3 separate regions of the Homo sapiens genome follow, and all the other regions are linked to region 3. Evidence: promoter capture Hi-C in 16 types of primary human blood cells and fetal thymus (Javierre and others, 2016). All regions are on one chromosome and are shown on one strand. Each heading gives the region's core, a stretch centred on a gene start or on the middle of the fragment in contact. The rest is flanking DNA. Distances are from core to core; before and after follow the strand shown. Region 1 has its middle 6.9 kb from the start of TMED10. Region 2 has its middle 27 kb from the start of TMED10. Region 3 holds the start of LINC01220 (long intergenic non-protein coding RNA 1220).

Region 1 (3,038 bases), core at 398-2,897, 110 kb before region 3:
CTGCATTCCAGGTGATGTCATACAATTCCATGACTTTATTTTTATATTTTTTATTTATTTTTATTTTTTTGAGACAGAGTTTCACTCTTGTTGCCCAGGCTGGAGTGCAATGGTGCAATCTCAGCTCACTGCAACCTCCGCCTCCAGGGTTCAAGTGATTTTCCTGTCTTAGCCTCCCGAGTAGCTGGGATTACAGGCATGCACCACCACATCTGGCTAATTGTGTATTTCTAGTGGAGACAGGGTTACTCCATGTTGGTCAGGCTGGTCTCGAATTCCTGACCTCAGGTGATCTGCCCACCTCGGCCTCCCAAAGTGCAGGGATCACAGGTGTGAGCCACCGCGCCCAGCCTTAGATTTTTTATTTTTTCTGAGATGGAATCGTGCTCTGTCCTCCAGGCTGTAGTGCAGTGGCGCAATCTCGGCTCGTTGCAACCTTTGCCTCTCAGATTCAAGCAATTCTCCTGTCTCAGCCTCCCGAGTAACTGGGACTTGGGACTGCAGGAGCACGACACCAAGCCCAGCTAATTTTTGTATTTTTAGTAGAGATGGTGTTTCACCATATTGGTCAGGCTGGTCTCGAACTCCTGACCTCAGGTGATCCACCCTTCTTGGCCTCCTAAAGTGCTAGGATTACAGGCATGAGCCACCATCCCCAGCCCAATCCCATGACTTTAAATGTGTCTGTAGACTGATAATTCCCAAACATGGATCTCCTGACCTCTCTCATAAGCTCCAGAGTCTATATCGAGCTCCCTACTTGACATCTCCACTTGAAGGACTAATAGGCAATTCATACTTAACTCTTGATTTCCCTTCTCCCCTCTTCCCCCACCCCGCTCCCAAATCTACTTCTTCCGCATCTCAGTAAATGGCACCACCTTCTGCCTAGTCAATGACACCATTCTTGTTTCCTCTTTAACTAACCTTCTCCCCAGACAGAGTCAGTTCATCAAGTCCCGTCAGTTCTGGATTGGGTCCTAAAATGTATGCTGGTCAGTTTCTACTTCTCTATAAGCTAGGGGTCCATAAACTGCTGCCTAGCTAGGCAGGCCAAATCTGGCATGCAACCTCCTGTTTTTCTATTGTGCAAGAGCTAAGAATGGCTTTTACATTTTTTGAGGGCTGTTAAAAAAAAAAAAGGAGGAGGAGAAAGAAGAGAAGAATGTGCAATAGAGAGCTCAAGTGACCTGCAAGCCTGAAATATTTGCTATCTGACCTTTTACAGAAAAATTTATTTCTGTCAGTTAAGCAAACAAGACAACAGCCTCCTTAATGGTTATCTCTGCTTTTATTATTGCCTGACAATAATCGTACTCATTAACATACCCAGAATGATTTTTTTTTCTTTTTTTCTCTGATTTTTTTTTTTTTTTAAGTAAAGCAGATCAACTAGATTAAAATCCAAACACCCAGCCACAGCCTGAAGGCTGAGGCCACTGTGTTCTGGCTCATGCCTGCCTCTCTGTGATTATCCTACCCATTAATGTCTTACCTGGCCTTCCAAACAGTTTAAGCCCCTACCTGCATCAGAGCCTTGGACCTTGCTGCCTACCTGGAGCTCTCCTCAGCTGTTGTCTCATATACTCTGCTGACTGCTTCTCATCATTTGGGTCCCAACTGAATGTCACCACCCCACATAAGTATCCCCCCCCTTGGGTTACTTTCTACCACATTATCTGGTTTTATTATCTTTATTTTTCTCTCTTTTTTTTTCTTTTTTTTGAGATGGAGGTCTCCCTCTGTTGCCCAAGCTAGAGTGCAGTGGCATGATCTCGGCTCTCTGCAACCTCCGCCTCCTGGGTTCAAACGATTCTCATGCCACAGCCTCCCAAGTAGCTGGGACTACAGGCACTTGCCACTGTGCCTGGATAATTTTTGTATTTTTAGTAGAGATGGGGTTTCACCATGTTGGTCAAGCTGGTCTTGAACTCCTGACCTCAAGTGATCTGCCTGCCTTGGCCTCCCAAAGTGCAGGAATTACAGGTGTGAGCCACCGCGCCCGGCTCTTTTTTTTTTTTTTTTTTTTTTAGGGACAGGGTCTTGCTCTGTAACCCAGGCTGGAGTGCAGCGGCGCCATCATAGCTCAGTGCTGCCTCCATCTCCCTGGCTCAAGCGATTCTCCCACCTCAGCCTCCCCAGTGCTGGGGACTACAGGCACACGCCACCACACCTGGCTAATTTTTTTTTTTTAGTAGAGATGAGGTCTCACTCTGTTTCCCAGGCTTGTCTCAGACTCCTGAGCTCCAGCAATCCTCCAGCCTCTGCCTCCCAAGGTGCTGGGATTATGGGTGTGAGCTACTGCACCCGGCCCTGGTTTTATTATCTACATGGCTCTTGTCACTGTTTGAAAGTATCTTATATATATATCTTTCTTGTTTATTATCACCCCACCCTACTGGAATTTAAGCTCAGAAGAGCAAGGGCTTTGATTTTTGCCTGATCTTTCCCTGAGATCAGGCACAATATCCTGTCCATAGTTGGTGCTCAACAAATACTTATCGAATAAATGAAATACAACATATTATAAAGCTCCTAGCACGAGATGAACATAGAGCAGTTGCTCCATAAATGCTAGTTCCTCTATGTAGTAGGTACAACATTTTAATTGCCATTTTTTATATGGAGAAGCTGAGGTCTGAAACTGCTTAGTGACTTGCCTCAAGTCATACAATGAGTCAGTGTTAGAGCTGAAAATAGAAATGAGAGCTCCTAACTGCAGACCAATTTTTGTCATTACATTTGATAAAACTTGGTATTTACGATTTAGTTTCCACTCTACTAAGAAGTTTTAAATTCTTGGGCACTCTTTCTCTACTTTCACTCAGAGGCTAGTAAAAGATCCACTAGCCTCTCCCAACTCATTTTGCTTGAAAAAACAAGATTTTTATCAGTCGGGTGTGGTAGTTCATGCCTATAATCCCAGCACTTTGGGAGGCTGAGGCATGTGGATCACGTGAGATCAGGAGTTCGAGACCAGCCTGGCCAACATGGTGAAACCTCTCTCTACTAAAAATACAAAAAATTAGGCATGGTGG
Region 2 (2,998 bases), core at 17-2,516, 91 kb before region 3:
TGTTTATTTTTGCTTTTTTTTTTTTGGTATGTGTTAGCAGTACTGCCCTCACTATGCGCTCGTTGGACAGTAGCACAAACCCAAGAAAAGAATGATGATTTGGCAGTCATTTCTAAATAGCAGAACACCTTTTCTTATTTTAGAATATGTAGGGCCAGGCATGGGGCCTCACACCTATAATCCCAGCACTTTGGGAGGCTGAAGTGGGAGGATTGCTTGAGCCCAGGAGTTCAAGACCAGCCTGGGCAAGATGGCAAGACTACGCATCTCTACAATAAATAAATAAATACATAAATAAAATATCAGAGCTAGTTCTCAATTAAATCTGATCAAAACATAGCATGCCATCTAGCACAGGACCTCAAGGCCTTATAGACATGAGTTATATATCCTCCTTGCTTATAAAATGCAGACTGTCTAATTGCTGGCTCACAGAAGATCACATAGGGGCTTAAAGCTTAGTTAGGGCAGAGCCGTCATGTGAGACATAAACAGAATGGGGAGAATCTGTAATATAGGGTGAGAACTTTGTAAGCTTCATGCTATGGACAATGGAGAAGTATATCAGGGCTCTGCAGTTTCAGGAGATAAGAACGAATTCTGAGTTAACAGGAAAAAAAAAGCCATCTGAAGGAAGGATATTGGGGAGTTTATAGAATTGAAGGAAAATCTGACCAGGCAAGAGGGGATCTCCTGGGGATTAACTCATGATTCAACTTCAAACTTCCCATCCCTGAATCTCTGTTCAAAATTCAAATGCCCAGGTGAGTCTGAATGGCTTAGCTTAGGTCATGTGCCCCCTTCATGGGACCTGGGATTGGCTGACCTCCAGAATTCTGCACAACAGAGAAAAGGAGACAAATTCCAAAGGAACAGATGCTGGCCAGACAGACGAGACATGTCTGCTCTAGTAGCCACTGGACATTGCTTTCTCTTTTTCCTTTGTTTTTCTTTTTTTTCTTTTTTAAATGGAGTTTTTTTTTTTTTTTTTGAGACGGAGTCTCGCTCTGTCACCCAGGCTGGAGTGCAGTGGCGTGATCTCGGCTCACTGCAAGCTCCACCTCCCAGGTTCACACCATTCTCCTGCCTCAGCCTCCCAAGTAGCTGGGACTACAGGTGCCCGCCACCACGCCCGGCTAATTTTTTCATATTTTTAGTAGAGACGGGGTTTCACCATGTTAGCCAGGATGATCTCGATCTCCTGATCTCGTGATCCGCCCGCCTTGGCCTCCCAAAGTGCTGGGATTACAGGTGTGAGCCACCGCGCCCGGCCAAAAAAAAAAAAGAAAAAAAAAGAGAGGGCCAGCCGTGGTGGCTCATGCCTGTAATCCCAGCATTTTGGGAGGCTGAGGGGGGCAGATCACTTGAGGTCAAGAGTTCGAAACCAGCTGGGCCAACATGGTGAAACCCCGTCTCTACTAAAAATACAAAAATTAGCTGGGCCTGGTAGCACGTGCCTGCAGTCCTAGCTACTTGGGAAGCTGAGACAGGAGAATCACTTGAACCTGGGAGGTGGAAGTCACAGTGAGCTGAGACCACGTCATTGCACTCCAGTCTGGGTGACAAGAGCAAAACTCCGTCTAAAAAAAAAAAAGAAAGAAAGAGAGAGAGAGAGACAGAGACAGAGAGAGGCAGGAGATGTGTTAGAAAGCTATTAGATGTCAACCATTGTGGAAGGAATGAACCAGGCTGGGCTGGCGGAGAATGGAACGAAGTAACCAGATATGAGGCACAAGGGCTCAAAAAGTAGTTTGTAAACTCGATTGAGCCATCTGGGGCAGTTGGGACCCCAGGAGTTCATCTCCAGCCTACACCAGAATCCTCTCTGGGAAGTGACTGGGAATCTACAATTTTAAAACACACAGCCATCCTCCATAGAAGACACTGGTCTGTGTAGATGGGCATTTGGAAACCATTGATCTATTAGACCGTTTTTTCTAAATGTCCTCTAGTCCAGTGTCTCATCTTATCTCTTTGCTCTTGCAGTTAAGCATTATCAAAGCTTAGCTTTTGAGTACTTGCAATTTGTACTCATTACATTTAGAGTCATATATCTGCAAGATCTCTTCTGAGGTCTTTGGAATGAAAACAAGGACAGAGAGGTATGTTGGCTCCTAACCGTCGCCTTATTTTGTTAGTGTGTCTGGGGCTTGTGGCTTTTGACAGGGACTCGAGAGATGACTTTGTCAGCTTTTCCTTTCACTATAGTAAGTCTCCATAACAAACACACCCAAGTCTGGTATTTCTGAACTTATGGCTCTGTACTGAATACATGCTGTTCCTGGAGCCAGGCTCATTTTGCAGTTTCTCCTCCCAACTCCACCCTTTGGTCCTGCTGATGGGCTCATTCAGCCTTGGCATGTGATAAACCTCAGGTTCTGGGAGTTTTCTCTAGGACACTGAAGAACAGTATTGACTTTTCAGTAATTGCTGGAGTTTAAAAGGAATGGTGATCTTTGGGAGTGGGAGTGTGGTACAGGTGGGCGAATAGGACTTACGGTGCCAACTGGCTTCTCCCCATTCCTATAGTGAGGGGACTCATAAGAATGAATAACTAGGAAAGGGTTTGCCAAACTTCAGTTGTTTGAATACCATCCTCATGATTTTTGCCAAATCTTCATGTTATCCATCTGCTATTTATTTTATACTTTTCATTAATTAACATATTTTCGCTGGCATAGTCACTACCTATGCTAGCCTTGCTGTAAACAATCATATTCTTGAAGTTGCTGATTCATGAAATCGGGTCTGGTATGCTACCTATAAATTTTTTTCTAGTACACATTAAAATAAATATACACTTATTGAAATTGTGTAAATGTTCACTCATGTGCTAAAATCCTCCTGTGTGCCACTAGAGGTATACGTATCACAGTTGGGGAGCATTAGCTTAGGAATGTCCATGAGCTAAGAGGCCAGTGATTCCAGACCCCCTAATTCATTGTAGTTTTGGTGCCAAATGTAAGATTTTTTTGAGTCTATTTATTGAAAAGTTACC
Region 3 (3,059 bases), core at 407-2,906:
AAATTGCGAAGCAGTGTGATACAGTGTTTTGCCATGTTTTTATTTGACAAATGCACATTTTAGTTAATAACTAAATATTTTTACTAGATTTGAATATTATCTTTAAAATAGATAATTCCTTTTGCTTATTTATTTTTGAGAGAGGGTCTCCCTGTCACTCAGGCTGGAGTGCAGTGACTGCAATCAAGGCTCACTGCAGCCTTGACTGCCCTGGCCCAAGATCTTCCCACCTCAGCCTCCCAAGTAGCTGGGATCACAGGTGTGCACCACCATGCCCAGCTATTTTTTTTTATTTTTGTAGAGTCGGGGTCTCCTTATGTTGCCCAGGCTGGTCTAGAACTCCTAGGTTCAAGTGATCCTCCTGCCTTGGCCTCCCAAAGTGCTGGGATTACAGGCGTGGGCCACAGCGCCCGGCCCCCTTTTATTTTAAATCTAAAGAAGACTCGAGAAAAAAAACATTACGTCAGTAGTAGATTTAGGAGATGCACTACTAATACTACGTAAGTTTCTCTTGTGCTGCCTGGGAATAAAAATAAACACTTAACACTAACTTGGGGCTCACAACATGCTTGACACTGTTCCAAACACACACACACACACACACACACACACACACACACACACTCATTTTAAAAGTCCTCATCTACTCTTAAAGGTAGGTCCTGCTATTATCCTTATTTTTGTAGATAATAATATAGTCTGGGGCGCAGAGGTCTGCTCAAGATCATCCAACTGGAGTGGCAGCGCTGGAATTAGAGTCCAGGCAGTGTGGCTTCAATGCCTGAACTCTTAGCCATTAGAAAGGAAAAACAAAGCAAAATCAGTATCCGCAACAACCTTGCAGGCACGGAGGCCCTCAGAAGGGACAGGAGAGGCCGGGCGCGGTAATCCCAGCACTTTGGGAGGCCGAGGCGGGCGGATCACCTGAGGTCAGGAGTTGGAGACCAACCTGGCCAACGTGGTGAAATCCTGTCTCTACTAAAAATGTAAAAAATTAGCCGGGTACGGTGGCGCGCGCCTGTAGTTCCAGCTACTTGGGAGCCTGGGGCGGGAGAATCGCTTGAACCGGGAGGCAGAGGTTGCAGTGAGCAGAGATCGCGCCAGTGCACTCCAGCCTGGGCGATAGAGCGTGACTCCATCTCAAAAAAAAAAAAAAAAAAAAAAAAAAAAACAAAGGAAAAGAAAAAGAAGGGACAGGAGGGCCTCCTTCCGCTCCTGACCAGCCCCTGCTGGCCCGTGGGCAGAGGGAGAGCCGGCTTCCAGGGACCTCAGGGAGGGACGTTTGGGAGTGCTCTCTCAGCGTCCCCTCCACCGCCCTCTCTACACCCTTGCCGCGCCCCTGTCCTCGTCGGCCAGGCCAAGGTTTCTCCTGGCCCTTCCCAGCTTCCGGCCCTTTGCTCCAGGGCAGGTCGCAGGGCCAGACGGTGCCAGGAGCTCGCGAGTCCTCTGTTTACTGTTTGGTTTCCACGGTGACACGTAGGCGCCGTCAGCGACTCCCGTCACCGCCCCGCAGCGCGGCCCCCACCCGGCGCCGTGACGCCGGCCCGCCGCTTCCGCTCTGCCCATATTTGGCTCAGCCACTGCGCCGCCGGCCCGGGGTAGGCTGTGGGCGGGACTCCCGCCGCGCCCCGCCCCCGGTCCCTGCCCCGCCCCTGGAATGCTGGGCGAAGGCTCCGAGCCACGAGACCCCCGCCTCCTGTCCCGGGACCCACCCAGGCGGAGGCAAGGGCAGGGGCGCTGGGGGCCCAGAGAGAGGGCGCCGCGATGGATGAATGAGCTGTTTCCAGCATTCCTGTGCGTCTGCTGGTTGTAGCTGCAGTCAAGATTTGGGGCGGTCTCGTTTGTTGTGGGTGGGTGATCTGGGATCACGATTTTCTCACTCTGTGCCCGGAAATCATGCCATCTCTCGCCCAACGCTGTATTTTATAGGCTTCAACTCAAAATTTTCCTTCATGGCACAGTGGAAAGCTTTGAAGACGGCGGTTCTGGGGTCAGTGTTGCCCCTCGGGGGATAAGTGACCTTGGGAAGGCCATTTTCCTTTTCCTGGCATGATAAAACGAACCGTGGGGGTGGTCCATAATGGTTGCAGCACTGTCATCAGGCTTGTGAGGGGAGCTTTTCCATCACCCTCTAACCACCCCCTCCCCAGGACATAACTGGAATATCAGTGAAGTTCTTTGAGCATCGACCCCCTACAGTTCTGCCCCCTGTGGTGATTGGATTTGTGTGTCTCTGCACCTTGCTCCTATTAGGCGCTTAATGAACTTTAGTTAACTGATTATTGAATGAATAATACGAATCACCTTCATAAATCCGGACCCCTGCAATTCCTCTTCCAGGCCGGGCGAGGGGGAGGGTAGGGGATGGGGGAGAATATTGAGATGATTAATAATCGCGCGGCAGGGTTGCTGATGTAAAGCGATTTGCAGATCTAAAGGGCAATAAGCATTCCTGGGAGAAATCCAGCGAGATTCCAGAAGTCTCTGAGGGAGCCGTGGGTGTGTACCGCCGGGCCCAGAGGGCGGGGGTGGGGCAGGCAGTGCCGCAGTGGCCGCTGCTGGGGAGCCGATTGCAATTGCGAGGAGAAGCGTGGGGTTAATCCTTCAAGACGCCTGTCACCATCCTCCCACCCCCATCCCTGCCCCCTAGATTCCCCAGTTCCTCTGGCTGAAGGAGTGTGTGTTTTCCAGAGTTTCAGAGCTGGAAGTCACATCGGAGACTTTTAATCTAATTTAACCTATTTCGCCAACAGGGAAATTAAAGCTCAGAGAAGTTGGTTCGACCATCCAAACTTGCACAGCTAGTTAGAAACTGATAAAAGTCAGGATATCTAGCTTCAAATAGTGTTCCACATCGCCTAGGTGCTTCTAATTTCCTGTGCTTCAGAACCCTGTTGCCTGGCTCAGCTGGTGGGTTGTACATTTAGGCTAAATATTGACTTCAGGGCTCTTAAAGAACGCCATTGTCACGTCTGCTGCCACACGCAGCCCACACCATGACACCAGGGCCTGGGGGGGATGGCCAAGAATTGTGTACTTCCTAAAGCCTCAAGCATTCC

What was found. The method cuts DNA at HindIII sites, captures the fragments that hold promoters and counts their contacts. A CHiCAGO score of 5 or more calls a contact.
Region 1: a contact is called between a fragment that was not itself captured here and the fragment with the promoter of LINC01220 in region 3, in 16 of 17 cell types (total B cells, naive B cells, monocytes and 13 more). The highest score is 20.8, in total B cells.
Region 2: a contact is called between a fragment that was not itself captured here and the fragment with the promoter of LINC01220 in region 3, in 6 of 17 cell types (total B cells, naive B cells, total CD8 T cells and 3 more). The highest score is 7.9, in total B cells.

Annotation. Positions count from the first base shown.
Region 1 is chr14:75,181,958-75,184,995 of GRCh38, forward strand. No RefSeq gene overlaps it. Among named protein-coding and RNA genes, the nearest start is that of TMED10, 6.9 kb to the left of the region's middle. The HindIII fragment of the contact is 3,996 bases long and covers 1-3,038 here.
Region 2 is chr14:75,202,074-75,205,071 of GRCh38, forward strand. It overlaps the pseudogene RNU4ATAC14P. Among named protein-coding and RNA genes, the nearest start is that of TMED10, 27 kb to the left of the region's middle. The HindIII fragment of the contact is 1,467 bases long and covers 534-2,000 here.
Region 3 is chr14:75,292,748-75,295,806 of GRCh38, forward strand. LINC01220 (long intergenic non-protein coding RNA 1220) reads left to right here and starts at 1,657. Exons shown (of 3, transcript NR_038421.1): 1 at 1,657-1,794; 2 at 1,930-1,990. RefSeq lists an enhancer at 1,225-1,364 and a silencer at 1,435-1,894. The HindIII fragment of the contact is 10,176 bases long and covers 1-1,966 here.